Linked DNA regions of Homo sapiens: regions 2 and 3 are each linked to region 1. Evidence: promoter capture Hi-C in 16 types of primary human blood cells and fetal thymus (Javierre and others, 2016). All regions are on one chromosome and are shown on one strand. Each heading gives the region's core, a stretch centred on a gene start or on the middle of the fragment in contact. The rest is flanking DNA. Distances are from core to core; before and after follow the strand shown. Region 1 holds the start of KMT2A (lysine methyltransferase 2A). Region 2 holds the start of HMBS (hydroxymethylbilane synthase). Region 3 holds the start of SLC37A4 (solute carrier family 37 member 4).

Region 1 (3,517 bases), core at 553-3,052:
CTTGCCCCAGTACTAATGGGGAAGGGGCAACGCTCTGACCCTTCATCCACCTTGGGTCCCCTTACAAGAATCAGAGACAACCCCAAGTCCTTTCTAAGGAATAACTTTGCTTGATAATCCTTTTTCTCCCATCCCAAAGCAACCACCGCCACCACACTAAAGTATAACTGTCCCTTATCTACTCTCCTCACCCCAACCTGGCTTCCCCCACCCCTTCCAAGCCCCAGGATTGGCCTAGGAAAAGGTGGATCAATAATGAAATGACGAGAAGAGAAGGGCGGGAGGGAGCTCGGGTTGGAGACTGCGTGCTCTCAGGCGCAGTGGGTGGGGTAGGAGAGCAGCTGCTTCCCCTGGGAGGATGCTGCCTCAGTCCCCCAACAAACACCTCCCCTCACAGGGGCCCCCTTCCCCAGAGCTGGAGGGAAAGCCTGCCTCCTCTCCAAGGGGAGTGGTGGAAAGCTGCTCTTCTCTAAGCCTAGGGGACAGTGGACTATTTTCCCCTCCAAGATGCCACTAATCCTTCATTCTAAAGGAGGGAAAGGGTGGAGTGAAGGTAGAGTAATTCCCGGCTACCAATAGGCTAGAAACTGTAGCCCTGTAAGACGGGGCGGGGGGGGGAAGAGACTGCTGTATGAGGAATCACCGTTATCTTCAGAGGGAAAGGAGGTGAGACCAGGCAAGGTGCAGAGGAGAGATTTTCCCCGGTGGGGTAGGGCGGGATGGGGGAGGATCGGTCTGCTTGGGGTGGGGGTAGAGGGTGGAGGTGAAGGAAGGGGGAGTGGCTGGCAGTATAGGGACCTGGCCCGGGGATGGCGCGAGGGTTCATCGGGTTTTCGAAAGCAAGGTGCTGGAAGGGACACGATCCCCAAGGGCCAGGAGAACGTGGCCCTGGATGAGGCCATCACCCGAGAGACGCCCGAGAGGAAAACTGCCCTAGGAGTAACACATCTGCCCAGAGAGGGAGGCGGGGATGTGGCGGGATCAGGTCTCTAGGAGGGAGGGAGGGAGGAATCTTGCTCGGATGAGGTAATCTGTGAAAGGGAGGAGGGGTTCAGTCCCGGGATGGGAAACCCCGGCGAGGGGGTCTGTGCCAAGGGATTTGGGGAAGGGTCAGGGGGAGGAGAGCGGGGGGCAAACGCCCTCAGCCAGATGGGCCCAAACCCCGGGGTGGGGGCGCCTGGGGGTCTGCAGCCCTGCATGGGGGTCCCAAGATGGGAGAGCCATTCGCCCCGGGTCAGGGACCCCGAGATGGTCCCAGAATTGGGATGCTCCTCAATCCCGGATGGGGGAGGGGAGGGGGCTCCGCAGAGGGTCGAGACCCCGGACCTGGGGGTTCCTCGCCCCCTTACCTCTCCGCTGCCGCCTCCCCCGCCGCTCTCCCCAAACACGGCCCGGAACCGGCGCAGGTTGGTGCCGATGGCGGCCGAGACCTGCAGCGCCGCGTCGAAGCCCGGGCCCACCCGGAGCAGGGCCGGCCCTGAAGAGGCTGAGGACGATGACGAAGACGAAGACGAGGCGGACGACGAGGAGGCTGCTGAGGCGGCGGCCGCTCCCCCTGGAACCCCAGCCCCGCTGCTTCCCGCCGCCGCCGCCGCGGCCGCCACAGCCGGGGGGGAGGGGGGCGCCCCGGGGCCGCCACCGCCGACCGGGGGCCCGGGGGGAAGCAGCAGGGCCGGGACGCGTTGCCGCGGGGCGCCCCCTAGGCCCCGGCGCCCCCCGCCGCCGCCGCCCCCGGTGGTCCCGGGTCGGGCGGGGAAGCGCCACCGACAGCTGTGCGCCATGTTCGCCCCGTGAAGTGAAGCAGCGAGAGGGAGAGGCGACAACACAGGGGGGCGGGGAGGCGGAGGGGGGGGCACGGGGCCCCGGAACCTGCCTAACCAGCTCTGCGCCGCCCGGCCGCCTGCACCCTGCCGGCCGCTATGCAGAGCGCCGGGCCGCGCCCGCCAGCCCCGCAATCTGTATAGCGGCCTCGGGCCTCCGCCTCTGACGCCTGGGCGCTGCAACTCCATCCCGAGGCCCGGGCCGCCGCCTCCTGCCCGCCCGCCGGCCCCGCAACCTGGATAACTGCATGCCCCGCCCTCCGGGAGAGGCATTGCTCGGGAAAAGGAGGGGGGAAGGAAGCCCGGGAGCCCGGAGCAGAGCGCGGGTTCCGGAGAGAGGGGGAGGGGGCGAGGACTACGCGGAGGATGGAGGCGTAGGGAGCCGGGCCGCCTGCAGCCTTGAGCGCCGAGAGGCCGATTACACACGTTCCCGGGACGCGCTGGGAATCGAACAGCCCGGGAGAGCAGCTTCCAGTATAACGCGGCGGCTGGGTCGGGGAGCAGTGAGCCTTCTCCTCCGCCCCAGGGCACGGATACAAGATGGGTTAGCCCGAATTGAACGCTTCTAGAATAAAAGAGCCCTTATTGTACTACATGCAAAACAGAAGCGCTGCCCAGTTTACTATATGCAAAACAGAAAGGCCCTCAATGAACGCACTTTAAAAAATAAAAAAGGAGCCCCTCCCATTTTCATGCTGGAGCTCTTTCCAAAAAGCACACACCGAGTGGCAGGTCTCCTGCCACCTCCTCGCTCTACTGTGCACTCGTCTGGCTTTCGTGCCCTTCTGCAGGGAGTTGGGTTGTGTTTCTCCAGCCCGGGCACTGAGGCCACGGCGTGCTCCGCTAACGACGCGGTGTTACAACGAAGCTGAAGCTGGGTGGCTAACGGGGCCTGGAGGGAAGAGGCGGGCAAAAGCGCCCCCGCCCCTTCTTCCTCCGGTCTCTGCCTGCCGCTGCATGCAAAGCAGACCCTAATGTATGCACGCAGAGGGAGGGGGGCTCGCGAGCACGTTTCTGATTAAGAGAGGGGGAGGAGGAGAGCGTTGGGCATTATGATACACTGGGTGGAAGGGGCCCGCCGGCGGCGAGCTCTGTGCGCGGGGTTAGTAAGCTGAGGGGGGAGGGGGAAAGAAGGAGGCGAGTTAGGGAGGGGAATGAATATCCACCGGGTTTACTTTATTGCGGGAAAGAGGGGAGGGCGCCTCGAGCATAGCGTTAGACGCCTGCAAGGCTGGGAAAGCCGAGAGGGTAGGGAGGGGTTTGTGTCGGGAGAACTTGCGTTGGCTGAGGCTGGGGGATCGATACACAGCCTGCAGGCCCCGGGGCAGCCTCCATCCCCCAAGCCGAGGGGGAGTTCGCTGGAAGGTCATGCAGCCTTCCTGGACTCCCGCACCGGTACAGCGCACTGCATGTAATATTACAGCCTGGGGCGGCGAATTTGGGAAGGAGGGAGAGGGTCGTTGTGAGCAGGTTGCACTCAGCTCTGGCCCTCCGGAGGGTGCACTTCACGCCTCCAGAGAAGGTCCACAGCCTCCTGGTGCTGAAAACCTACGTCCCTCCACTGGCGAAACATTTGTGCAGAGCGGACGATGGGATGGGGGCTGGAGAGGAGCAATGAAAGGGAGGAGACACAGGCAAGCCTCAACTCCCCCAACTCGTCCCGAATCGATCTTCGTTCCAACCGCGCAGGATGGGGC
Region 2 (3,517 bases), core at 610-3,109, 650 kb before region 1:
ACAGACGCACACCACCATGCCCAGCTAAAATATGTGTGTGTGTGTATATATATATATATATTTTTTTTTTTTTTCTTTTTTTGAGGGGGAGTCGCGCTCTGTCACCCAGGCTGGAGTGCAATGGCGCGGTCTCGGCTCAGTGCAACCTCCACCTCCCAGGTTCAAGCGATTCTCCTGTCTTAGCCTCCCAAGTAGCTGGGACTACAGGCGCATGCCACCACGTCGGCTAATTTTTTGTATTTTTAGTAGAAACGGGGTTTCACTGTGTTCCCTAGGCTGGTCTCGAACTCCTGAGCTCAGGCAATCCACCTGCCTCGGCCTCCCAAAGTGCTAGGATTACAGGCATGAGCCACTGTGCCCGGCCTAATTTTTATATTTTTAGTAGAGACGGGGTTTCACCATGTTGGTCGGGGTGCTATGGAGTTCTTTTGCACCCAGACATCTGGGGCCTCTATTGCCGAAGCAGGTGACAGCTTTCTGCCCTCAGACTCTGGTCTACTCCATGTGATCACTCCAATAAATTAACCCTGGGAGACCCTTTGCAAATTAGGCTAGGCTTGATATTAAACGTGGCCACCAAAATTCTGGGCCACAGGGAGCCCACAGAAAGGACTCTAAGGTCCCAGAACTACTAGGTTCAAACAATTCCTTAAGTTCATTGAATGTGCACAGCATATCCAAGTCAAACCGTTTCATTAAAAAATAAAACACTGAGCACTTCTATGTTGAAGCTATTGCTTTTGCATATTGTTGTCGTCTCAAAAATCCTATCAGGTGGACAAGACAGGCACCTTTGGGACCATGTTACAGAAGCAACGGGTGGCATCAAGGGATGAGGTGACTTGCCTAGGGTCACAGAGCTAATAACCGAAAGAGAGTTGGGGCCACAATTCAGATCTTCCTACTCCTAGTCCAGGGCTCTGGAATGACTGCAAGAGCAAAGATCCCAGCCCTCACCAACAGGCTGGACAGGGGGAGATTAGCAGCTCCCCATCTCTTTCTTATCTCGGCCTGGCAGTGGCCTCCACCAGCTCTGCAGTTTGTCTGTGCACAAGCCCAGGGCTCGGCAAGCAGGCTCGTAATGGAAAGGCCCACGGCGGCCTCCCACCCACGGTAGTAATTCAGTAGGTGTGTCACAGCTGGGGACTTGGAGCGTTGGCTGTGGCTGGGAGACCACTATAACACAAAAAGAAGGCGCACTTCTAAGACGTTTGTGTGCAGTTCGGAGGCTTGGCTGATACTCTCTCCTATGAATCAAAAGTGGAACGTGTCTTCCCAAAGGGGCCGTATCTGCATCCGCCTCAGCCCAGCCTCGAATGAAAGGACCCCGTCTGTGTAGACGAACGTTCTTGGTCTGGGTCACTAAATCTAGAGCCGTGCATCCCAGGCCTGATGGGAATCCCACCCAGATGCCCGCAGGGACCGGAGTTCCGTTCCAAACAATCCTTCCACTCTTAACCCAGTATCACCGCTCTCTGATTTCCCCATTCCTTCCGGAGGGCAACCGAGCTACTGGCCCTTTAAAAGCTACTCGGACCAAAAAAAAAAAAAAAAAAAAAAAAAAAAAGATAGCCGTTCTGACCAATAGACGACTGAGGATGGCAACCTGGGGCCAATCGCTGCACGGCTCGTCCAGAAGCCCAAAGTGTGCTGGTCACCGGCTCAGCACTCACCGCCGTTGCAGCCGCATTGCCGTTACCAGACATGGCTCCGCTTGGAAAGTAGGCTGTGTGTGGGTGCCGCTAAGGTCCCCCGGCCCCGGGAAGCCGGGGGCTCCGGCCGGCGAGTACCGGGGACACGTGGGACCCGAGGTCGTCCTACAGTCTGACTCCTGGTCTCCGCAGAGCCTCGCGTCACTTCCGGCGCCCTCCCTCGAAGGGGAGGTCCCTCCCTCTGGGCGGGAATTGGAACATTGCGACAGTGGACCTCCCCATTCGACCACCCCATTCCCCAGCTGTGACATGAGCAAGTAGTGCAGCTTCTATGGCGCTTCCTTTGCTCTGTTCAAACTTAGCTTTGCTACAACCTTGAAATAGGCAGCATTTTTCTTTTTGATACGGGGTCTCACTGTGTCCCCAGACTAGAGTGCAGCGGCATGACCACGGGTCACTGCAGCCTTGACCTCCCGGCTTCAGCGATCCCCCCACCTCAGCCTCCCAAGCAGCTGGGACTACAGGCGCACATCACCACGTGGGACTAATTTCTAGATTTTTTTATAGAGACAGCGGGGAGGTGGCCTCACTATGTTGCCCAGGCTAGTCTCGAACTCCTGGACTCAAGCAGTCATCTCGCCTTGGCCTCCCAAAGTGCTGGGATTACAGGCGTGAGCCACTGGCCCAGCCAGCATTTCAATTCTTAAAATGAGGAAACTGGTTCAGAGAGATTAAAGGTCATGCCTAAAGACAAGTAACTGAAGTGGGAGCACAAACGCTACATGTAGTGAGAAAAGGGCTTGTTAGGAAAAGTGCTTTCCCATGAACATAATTTTTTTTTTTTTTTTGAGACGGAGTTTCGCTCTTGTTGCCCAGGCTGGAATGCAATGGCACGATCTCAGCTCACTGCAACCTCCGCCTCCCGGGTTCAAGCAATTCTCCTGCCTCAGCCCCCCGAGTAGCTGGGATTACAGGCACGCACCACCACACCCAGCTAATTTTGTATTTTTGGTAGAGATGAGGTTTCTCCATGTTAGTCAGGCAGGTCTTGAACTCCTGACCTCAGGTGATTCGCCCACCTCGGCCTCCCAAAGTGCTGGGAGTACAGGCGTGAGCCACCGCGCCTGTAATCATGAACATAATTAACAATCATGATTATTAATAATCACCCAGCTAGGTGCAGTGGCTCACACCTATATTCCCAGCACTTTAGGAAGCCAAGGCAGGAGGATTGCTTGAGCCCAGGAGTTTGAGACCACCCTGGGCAACATGGTGAAAACCTCATCTCCACAAAAAATACAAAAATAGCCAGGTGTGGCGGCACACACCTGTAGTCCCAGCTATTCAGGAGGCTGAGGTGTGAGGATCGCTTGAGCCCAGGAGGTCGAGGTAGCTGTGAGCTGTGGTGGTGCCACTGCACTCTAGCCTGGATGACAGAGTGAGACGCCCATTTTTTTTTTTTTTTTTTTTTGAGATGGAGTTTCACTCTTGTTGCCCAGGCTGGAGTGCAATGGTGCAATCTCAGCTCACCGCAACCTCCACCTCCCGGGTTCAAGCAATTCTCCTGCCTCACCCTCCTGAGTAGCTAGGATTACAGGCACCTCCCACCACACCCAGCTGGTTTTTGTATTTTTAGTAGAGACGGAGTTTCACCATGTTGGTCAGGCTGGTCTTGAACTCCTGACCTCAGGTGATCCGCCCACCTCAGCCTCCCAGAGTGCTGGGAATACAAGCATGAGCCACCGCGCCCGGTGAGACCCTGTCTTAAGAAGAAAAAAAAAATCACCCATGTGCTCAGCACTGTACAAAGAACTGAACACCTATTTGATCCTTAGGCTTTCATAATAGCCACACAGCATAGGTGT
Region 3 (3,517 bases), core at 1,018-3,517, 590 kb before region 1:
GTGGATCCCTTGAGCTCAGGATTTCGAGGCCAGCCTGGCCAATATGGTGAAACTCTTGTCTCTACAAAAAATAGAAAAATTAACCGGGTTGGCTGGGTGCAGTTGTTCATGCCTGTAATCCCAGCACTTTGGGAGGCCAAGGGGGGCAGATCACCTGAAGTCAGGAGTTTGAGACCAGCCTGACCAACATGGAGAAACCCTACCCCTACTAAAATTACAAAATTAGCTGGGCATGGTGGGGCATGCCTGTAATCCCAGCTACTCGGGAGGCTGAGGCAGGAGAATCGCTTGAACCCCAGAGAAGGAGGTTGCAGTGAGCTGAGATCACTCCACTTCCAAAACAAAACGATAGGGCTGTTAATTTAGGTGGTGGTTACACGGGTATTAACATGTGTAAAAAATCACTGAGTTGTACATGTAAGATTCCTGCACTTTTTGTATTTTATTATGTGTATGTTAAATCTTAAAAATAAAAGCGGAGAAAAACCTGATGGCTTCCTACTCCTCTATTAGGTAAAGTAAGAATCTGCTCTGGTTTGGTTTCGGAGGAACTGTTTCCTGGTCCTTGGATCTACCTGGCTGAAAGCACAGTGCCTGGTACAAACTAGGCTCCTCCCCGATTTTGAATTAACGAAGTTCAGTGACATCGTCATCCTATTTTTTTTTTTTTTTTTTTGAGACAGGCTCTCGCTCTGTCACCCAGGCTGGAGTGCAGTGGCACGATCTCGGCTCACTGCAACCTCTGCTTCCCAGGTCCAAGAAATTCTCCTGCCTCAGCCTCCCCAGTAACTGGGATTACAGGCGTGTGCCACCAAGCCTGGCTAATTTTGGTATTTTTAGTAGAGACAGGGTTTCACCATGTTGGCCAGGCTGGTCTCGAACTCCTGACTTCAAGTGATCTGCCCGCCTTGGCCTCCCAATGTGCTGGGATTACAAGCATGAGCCATCGCGTCCGGCCTGTCATCCTATTTTATCTCATCTCCTCCTCCTCCCTTCCCTGACCATCTTCTCTGGAGTAAAAGATCTTTGCTCTCAATTTTGGAACACTTACAATTCCTTCAGCCACTCTTGTTAGGAAGATATAAGGGAAGAGAGCGAGAGACAGGAGGCAACTCAACGGCCAAACAGGTTTATTCACAGGAATAAGCCTGCAAGGAGTTCCAGTCAGGAGTCTGGCTGAGACCCTGATCGCTTACAAGCTGAGGCTTTTATAATATCGTTTCTATTGGGGAGAGGTCGGGAAGTGCTGGCTGATTGGGACTGTTGGGGACTTTGTTAGGCTATGTTACCTTCTGTTGAAGCTATGGGCAGGGTTAACATTTGCTCTGTTTCTGAGAACACAGTCATCATTGTTGTAAAATAGCATCACTACTGTTACTCCTCACAACTCTTAACTGGGATCAGTGAAAACCATTGTTGTTGAGAACTCTTATAGAATTTCTGAGCTCTTATCTAAATCATCTGTTGAGTCTTCACAATGATCTACCAGGCTGGTAGGAAACGGGAGCTCATAGAGATTAACCAAGGTCATACAGTTAGAATGCTGTGGGTCTAGGACTAGAATTTGATATTTACTCCAGGCCCCGTCTCTGTCCCCAACAATCTAACCACAAGTTAAAATTCCAAATTGTGGGCTGGGCGCGGTGGCTCACGCCTGTAATCCCAGCACTTTGGGAGGCCGAGGTGAGCGGATCACGAGGTCAGGAGATCGAGACCATCCTGGCAAACACGGTGAAACCCCGTCTCTACTAAAAATACAAAAAATTACCCGGGCGTGGTGGTGGGCGCCCGTAGTCCCAGCTACTCGGGAGGCTGAGGCAGGAGAATGGTGTGAACCCGGGAGGAGGAGCTTGCAGTGAGCCGAAATCGCGCCACTGCACTCCAGCCTGGGCGACTGAGCGAGACTGTTTCAAAAAAAAAAAAAAAGAAAAAAAGAAAATACTGTGTGTTCCTACAACACCTTTCCCAGACTGTGAGCAACTTGGGAACAATGATTATCACCTTAGTGTTCGGTGTGTTTTGTAGAGGAGGGCACTCACTAAAAACTGGTTTGTTGAATGCAACCACTTAAGAATTGGACATGCCGTGCCCAGCCCCTAAGGGGCGCTATGCTCGTTCGTCCAAGGAGCAGCGTGACCAGCGGGAGGGAGTAAGTCGACGTCCCCGGCATGTGGGGCGGGGAACTCCACTGGCCGGCAAGCGAAGCAGCAGGCGAAGACCACGCCCCCGCCGGCCGCGCTTGCGCAGCCTTCGCTAGCCCCGCCCCGTCCTATTCGGGCTCCCGCCTCTGTTCAGGTAGGAGGCGGTATGCGGGGGAGGGGAGTCACCTGAGGGCGGGGATCTCAGGTCTTGGGGAGCCATTGTTGGCGAACCCCAACTTCCGATACGACCCGGAGCTGTTCCTGCAGTTCCAGAGACAATTCATGGGTCTTGGGGCCACCGAGGCGCTGTCCCTGACCACCAGCACGAGACCCCTTTCTATCGCGCCAGTCCTGTGGTCTCCGCACCTCTCCAGCTCCTGCACCCCCGGCCCCCGTGGTTCCCAGCCGCACAGTAGCGTGTCCTGGGTAGCGTGAGGACCCACGGGGCTGGGCAGGTGCCACGAGCCCGCCGCCTCTTCGCCGCCCGCCGCCTCTCCTCCTCTCCCGCCCGCCGCCTGGCCCTCCCCTACCAGGCTGAGCCTCTGGGTGCCAGAAGCGCGGGGCCTCCGGGAGAATACGTGCGGTCGCCCGCTCCGCGTGCGCCTACGCCTTCTGCTCCAGTTGCTTTCCCAATTGAGCGGAAAAGCCGGGGCATGTTGCCGGGGCCCTGGGCGGGACGGTTGTGCCCTGCAGCCCGAAGCCCGCCGGGGCACCTTCCCGCCCACGAGCTGCCCAGTCCCTCTGCTTGCGGCCCCTGCCAACGTCCCACAGGTTGGAAACCAGACCCTGCAGCCCCCAGCTAGCCCGAAGGAAGCCCAGACTGACGTCGCAGGGTAATGGGGACCCAGAGGTAGCTCTGTGGGGCCCCATCAGGACCTCAGCCCTTAGCGGGGCTTTCTGTGTGACACCGTGGGACCTGAACTGGGGAGGTCCCCCTTGCACAGAATTACAAGGGGCAACTGTAGGAAACAATTAAATCTATTATGTGCTAAGTATTGAGAGTTCCACGGATTGAGGCCCTCTCTAGAAGGCTTAGAAGTGGGGTAGCCGGGGTATGTGTCTGACTTTGTGTTTTGGTGCGGTGGTGGTGAGTGGGTGTAGAAACTAATAGTGCCAAGTGCAGTGCCTGTCAACTAGTAAGTTAATAAACCTTCCGTGAATGAATGAGAAGGTTCTGTGACTGAGGGAGCAGGGCTAGAGAGGGCATCTCTGCTCATCCCACCCCTGCCTCCCCTGGGCTCAGGCAGACAAAAGTAATTAGGTTGAACCTTTAATCAAAGCTGGTTTCACAGGCAAGCAGACATGATAGAGGAGGTAAAGGCAGAAATCCTGGGGACACAGGGTGCTGGCCTGGCTCACAGGCATGCCTCCTTCCG

The links. Contacts are between HindIII fragments. The CHiCAGO score rates a contact against its expected background, and 5 or more counts as called.
Region 2: the fragment with the promoter of HMBS here is called in contact with the fragment with the promoter of KMT2A in region 1 in 2 of 17 cell types (non-activated CD4 T cells and activated CD4 T cells); the score reaches 5.7 in non-activated CD4 T cells.
Region 3: a contact is called between the fragment with the promoter of SLC37A4 here and the fragment with the promoter of KMT2A in region 1, in 2 of 17 cell types (non-activated CD4 T cells and naive CD4 T cells). The highest score is 5.9, in non-activated CD4 T cells.

What each region holds. Positions count from the first base shown.
Region 1 is chr11:118,434,777-118,438,293 of GRCh38, reverse strand. KMT2A (lysine methyltransferase 2A) reads right to left here and starts at 1,802. Exons shown (of 36, transcript NM_001197104.2): 1 at 1,350-1,802. The coding sequence starts at 1,781. RefSeq lists enhancers at 1-833, 834-1,832, 2,494-2,633, 1,833-2,830 and a silencer at 1,704-2,183. The HindIII fragment of the contact is 8,732 bases long and covers 1-3,517 here.
Region 2 is chr11:119,083,223-119,086,739 of GRCh38, reverse strand. HMBS (hydroxymethylbilane synthase) reads right to left here and starts at 1,859. Exons shown (of 14, transcript NM_000190.4): 1 at 1,674-1,859. The coding sequence starts at 1,706. RefSeq lists enhancers at 1,582-1,631, 1,561-2,258. The HindIII fragment of the contact is 13,649 bases long and covers 1-3,517 here.
Region 3 is chr11:119,029,627-119,033,143 of GRCh38, reverse strand. SLC37A4 (solute carrier family 37 member 4) reads left to right here and starts at 2,267. Exons shown (of 10, transcript NM_001467.6): 1 at 2,267-2,295. RefSeq lists a silencer at 2,653-2,812. The HindIII fragment of the contact is 18,338 bases long and covers 1-3,517 here.